2 separate regions of the Homo sapiens genome follow, and region 2 is linked to region 1. The links are contacts of gene promoters, found by promoter capture Hi-C in blood cells and fetal thymus (Javierre and others, 2016). All regions are on one chromosome and are shown on one strand. Each heading gives the region's core, a stretch centred on a gene start or on the middle of the fragment in contact. The rest is flanking DNA. Distances are from core to core; before and after follow the strand shown. Region 1 holds the start of DAB2 (DAB adaptor protein 2). Region 2 has its middle 47 kb from the start of LINC02104.

Region 1 (2,700 bases), core at 51-2,550:
CTGTTTGCATTAGTTATATCTTACCTCCTTCTCCCCCATGCCCCTGCTTTGCCTGACTAAGGCCAGAAATTTTTTCATGAAGTCACTTTATAGAGCAATAGCAACATTTACTATTCGTGAAGTCGCCCCTCCATAATTTTTAAGTCTTTCCATGTGTCTGGAAGCTTGTTTCTGCTCTTCTCGGTTTACAGAGCGGCTCTCTTCCTTCCAAACAAAAACTAAAAAGAAAGGGGAAAAGGTGGGGGGTGGTTGGGGTGGAGATAACACCCAGATTCCTTAAGTGTTTTTAATCCAGTTGAATTTCCCTTTGGACTCAGCTCCCTGCTGAAACTGTCTGCGGACCAGAATTCCAGGCTCAGAATTAAGTCAAGAGGGAAAGACAGCAGAAACAAATAACAGAGTCAGCTCTATGCTATGAAAACCGCTATGTTGACTGAGGCTCCACGGTTTTAACCCATTCATTTTTCCCCCCTTTTTTAGAATTCTTACTTAATCTTTTTAACCAGCTTACAACAGGCAGGCAAGCACCATATAAACCATGCTCCCTGCGCCGGGGGATATAAAACAAGTTTCTTAAGTCCCTTGGGTAGATACTTCCTTAGGAATGCCGGTGTAAGACAAAAGTTCACATTTTAATGCCATATGTTGTCAGTCACCAGGAAAAAGCTCCTTATGGGCACAAGCCAGGTCCCCAGCCTTTGTCACACAGCAAAAATAAACACCCTTCGAGGAGTTAATTAGGCGGTCAGCAGCCACCTCAGTGTCCTAGGAGGGCTGCCCGCAGACCTTTTACACACACACACACACACACACACACACACACACACACACACACACACACACGACACAAAAGGAGGCGTTTGTTAAATGTCACAAGCTGGGCATCTGGAGTCGGATTCGAAAGGTAAATACATTCCGCGGAAGCATTCCTCAGATGTCAGGCCACAAAACTGCTGGTTTCCCCAAGCACAGGGTCTCATTTCTAAGATTCCCCACAGCCCAAGGTCTGTACTCAAAGAAGGGTAGCGGGGGGCGGGGGGGTGAGAGAGGGGGAGCAAAGGAGAGAAGGAGATCTTTAAAAAAAAAATGGAGCCAGAGGGAAGAAGGGTTTCGAAGCTACTCACCGGCTAGCTATTGCCTCCGTGAAGCGAGCATGACTTCCCCGCGCCCGGAGCCTCCAGGCTACAGCGCAGCGGATGCGGCGGGCCTCGCTTAAATAGCCGCCGGCCGGGAGCTTCGGAGCCGCGCGGCCACTCCCGGCGAGAGATATGGTTCTAATCAGATGCTGGCAGCTGAGGACTCCCCAGGAATGTGCCAGGATGTTTTTGCTGCCTGGGCTTGGTAACTCCCCCTCAACGTGTCTGCAGAGTCTTCCAAACTTAACTGTTTATTAACTCGCGCTGCAGCGGCGCAGAGGACCCCGCTCCCCTGAGCTCCGCGAGCCCCACCAGCTGGGGGCGATCGCAGGGACCCAGCGACGGGAGGGGAAATGTGTTCGGGGAGAAGTCAAAAGCCCCAGACCGACGCGGGCGGGGGGCGGGTGCAAATAAGGACAGGAAAGGGAAGCTCTGGAGGAAAGGGGTGGGATCCACCGAGCTTCGTTTCACAGATCCGTTCCCTGGATTGCCACTGCGAGTGATGTGGCACACGGAGTCATCCTAACCAACCCGTTGGGGCCCTTTGAACAAAGGACTGCCTTTACTCCTGACTTTTCTGACAAGGGACAACGGTTCCTGCGCAGATCTGCAGTTTCTAAAGTTGATCGCGCGATTGGATTTGCTCCCCTTAGAAGAAATTAGTGTCTCCCTCATTGCAGATGCAAATGCGCTTAAGTTAGTGGGAAATCTATGTGTGCATATGTGAAACATACTGTATTTACCTATGAAATATAATCATATATATGGATATAAAAATAATATTCTCTCTGAAATCGATATGAGCAAAACATGTTCACGTCTATGTAGCCTATCAAATAAGTTATAATTCTGATACAATCAGAGATTCTATACAGGCTTCCCTTACAGTGTATATACACCTATATGTAGACACATAACATGACTTTATCTGCATGAATTTCCATAGCACTTCCTATAACTCTAGGAAAAACATGAACTGCAAGAAATAAAATATTTAAAAATGTTAACGTAGAGTGCTGAGCGGTAGAAGGTACTCCGCAGCAAATCCTAATGAGTGTTAACAAGCTGAGAATTCATTTTCTCCATATTTTAAAATCAAGAATTATTGTAAAACATCCACAGAAGCTCTGTTGCTTTTTGGAGAATTCTGAAATTACTCTTGTGAAAGACGTGTCTCTTTTCCCTTTTTTTAAGAAAAAAATTTAATTGTTTAAAGTCAGAGGCAGCACGTAGTAAATGTGAAAATGCTAAATTGTATCTCGGATGGGAGGGGGTTATTGATTTTATCGAGTAAGCAACACAGTGGATTTGCATTTTACCTCTGGAAACTGAGGGTTCAAATAGGGCTCGTGGGACATCAAGGATATATTTTGTGGTCCGTGCCTAGCCTCGACTGCAAAGCCACTGTGTAATTTGGGGTAGCTCAATGTGAGTGGCAATGTCTGCTCTCAAGTAGGTCAGGCTTGAAACAACCGTTGTTCGGGGAGACTGAGGGGTGCAGAGCAGCACAGCTGGCCCAGAATTCTACTTCCCCAGCCTCTACTATTTCTCATCCCCTGACACA
Region 2 (2,794 bases), core at 65-2,564, 140 kb after region 1:
AGTGCCTGCAAGTCATAGACTACCTCCACCCCTTCTGTGTACCACCAGTAATCCTCTAGGTACTTACAGGGGTATAAATAACTCACTTTGGATACAATGGGTCAAAGCAATGGTCCTGATGACAATACCAAAAAATGTATAGAAGGATCTGATCACTGTGATGTCATCTGTCATCACAGGTGAGTTACATTGGACTCCCACTCAACTTTTGGTGAGTTTATGAAGTTATGTTCATATGCAAAAACATAATAACCCATTTTATGTCAAACTAGATACATACCCCTGTAGCTGCTTGAGTTTATTAATCTTAATTCTTTTCAAACTATTTAATATGTTAGCATGTACCATATCAAGAAAATATATTCTGCAAGTTTACTCCCATCTGTTGTGGAAAGTAAAAATTTGCCAGAAACTTACATATATTTATAACAATGTATGCTCACCTAGTTCTAATAATCAAGGGTTTGGCAATGAAAATTGGTTTGTATTTAAACTCACTAATTCATAAAGCAAGTACCGGATGATGTGTTGTATGTTCTCTTAGCCAGAGCAGCTGGCTATGTTTATGTAGGTAGTGCCTCTCCAAAGGTGGCTGAACAAGGGCGCAATGAAAGGCTGAAGTCCATCCCAAGTCTCCTGGCTGAGCCCTCTCTCTGGAACACGGCTATGTCTGTCTGGAGGAAGGCACACATTTTCTTTTTTAAAAAATGTACTTATTTTTATTTTTATTTTTTTGTGCAGATAGACAAATTTGACTGAATATTCTTTTTTTATTTTTTGTTTTACTTTAAGTTCTGGGATACATGTGCAGAATGTGCAGGCTTGTTACGTAGATATGCATGTGCTGTGGTGGTTTGCTGCACCTATCAATCTGTCATCTAGGTTTTAAGCCCACATGTATTAGGTATTTGTCCTAATGCTCTCCCTCCCTTTGCCCCCCACTCCCCGACAGGCCCCGGTATGTGTAGAAAACAAAACACCACATTTTCTCACTCATAAGTGGGAGATGAACAATAAGAACACATTTTCTTCTTACAAACACACTACCAATTTGCCAGGTCATATTCCCAAGAGGCTAAGATGCCTTTTTTTTTTTTTTCCTTATTTATTCTCCTATGCCCAGGCTTGTTATGTGCAAGCTTCAGGCCCTTATTTTTCTGGGTTTGAGTCAAATCTTTATTTCATGGCCCAATATGGAAACTTCTTTATACTCTGGGTCAGAGTAATTGCCTTTAGTTGAATATTTGTCAGCTTTCTTTTTCCTGATTTGAATTTACCAGAATTCCATGCAGTATTCTAGGCATAATGTACCCATTGTGATTATAATTTTCTAATGATTTTCAGGATTTCTATTTCTTTTAGGTTATGCCAGCCTTTTGGGATATTCTTGATGAAGCTATTGGAAAGAAATGTTTTCTATTTTGAAATTGCTTAGCTGGTGAAGTTTAAGTCTAGAGCTGCTGGCAGCCATCCTAGCCACTCTTGAGGATAAGCTTCCTGAGTATCTAGCCAGTACTGAGGAAGGAAGAGGAAGGAAGGAAGAAAAGAAAGAAGAGGAGGGAGGAGAATGAAAGATTTGATATATTTAATCCAATCCAGGACCTGGCTTTAGCCATTTCTGAACTTCCTTTTACAAAAGCCAAAAAAGTTCCTTTTTTATTTAAGATAGTTTGAAGTAGACTTCTATTTTTTGCCTGATACTGTCCAGTCAAATATAGTATGAAATTTATGATGTCCATTTCTAATCTGCTAGAAGTGAGGAGGGTGGAGTTATGAGCAAGTGTCTGCTTTGGTTAGGCTGTGTTAAGTACATTATATGTTATTATTATTTAAGCCTTAAAACAACTCTGTCGATCAGGTATTGCTAATGCACAGGATAAAATTTAAAACATTAACAGTATTTCCCTTAAATTTGTAGGAGTAAAGTTTAAAAATTAAGTCAATATATATGTGTATATATGTCTGTGTATGTATATATACCTGTATATATACATACATATCTATATATATGTATGCATGTATATATAGATACACATATATATCTATATGTACATGTACATTTATTAGTGTGAAACAAACAGTACTGACCTGTTAGTGGTAAAGAGACTTCAGCTCCCTATTTACAATCAGTGCAAAGGTTTCCAAGGTTATCAACTTACTTGTATCAAAGAAGTCAACACTTGATTGAAACCATGAATTGTGCAGATAAATACTGAGAAATGTGTTTTGATTGCACCACAGACAAGTAGCTTGAAAAAGGAGACAACTGAGATGCTCTAAATTACTTGAAATAAGGTAGAGGAAGGAATGTAGCAATAGCAAATTAAGTAGAAAACATTCTCTTCTATGTTTAGTACCTCGGAGGGAAATGTGTGGGCTGTTACAGGTAACTTGCTCTTTTCACTTAATGCCCTCTGCCTGCATGAGTTCCTCTGAGATGGCCCTAACTGCTTTATGTTAAAATTAAGGGGAGTGACTCTCTTGTGGAAAATAATATAGTGGATTTCTGTTTTCAGTTTCTTAGCCTTGCTACAGCAACCTATGCCACCACCACCAGCACTCACACATCACAAGCCTAGAATCTTTCAGTTAGTTGGTGTCATCCATAGGATAAAACCTCCAAACCTCTGAGAATACATCACACTGAAGCCCCATGTGATCAGATCTAAATCTTGCCTAATTGGCCAGCTTTATTTCCTTGCCTATGGCTTACATTCCAACTAAACCATTCTGCTGCCAGTTACACAAACACTTCATGCTATTCAGTGCTGCTGGCCTTTGCACACGCTGCTCC

What was found. The method cuts DNA at HindIII sites, captures the fragments that hold promoters and counts their contacts. A CHiCAGO score of 5 or more calls a contact.
Region 2: a contact is called between a fragment that was not itself captured here and the fragment with the promoter of DAB2 in region 1, in 3 of 17 cell types (M1 macrophages, M2 macrophages and M0 macrophages). The highest score is 8.1, in M1 macrophages.

The regions. Positions count from the first base shown.
Region 1 is chr5:39,423,680-39,426,379 of GRCh38, forward strand. It overlaps DAB2 (DAB adaptor protein 2), which reads right to left and starts at 1,301. Exons shown (of 15, transcript NM_001343.4): 1 at 1,125-1,301. The HindIII fragment of the contact is 7,828 bases long and covers 163-2,700 here.
Region 2 is chr5:39,565,627-39,568,420 of GRCh38, forward strand. No RefSeq gene overlaps it. Among named protein-coding and RNA genes, the nearest start is that of LINC02104, 47 kb to the left of the region's middle. The HindIII fragment of the contact is 354 bases long and covers 1,138-1,491 here.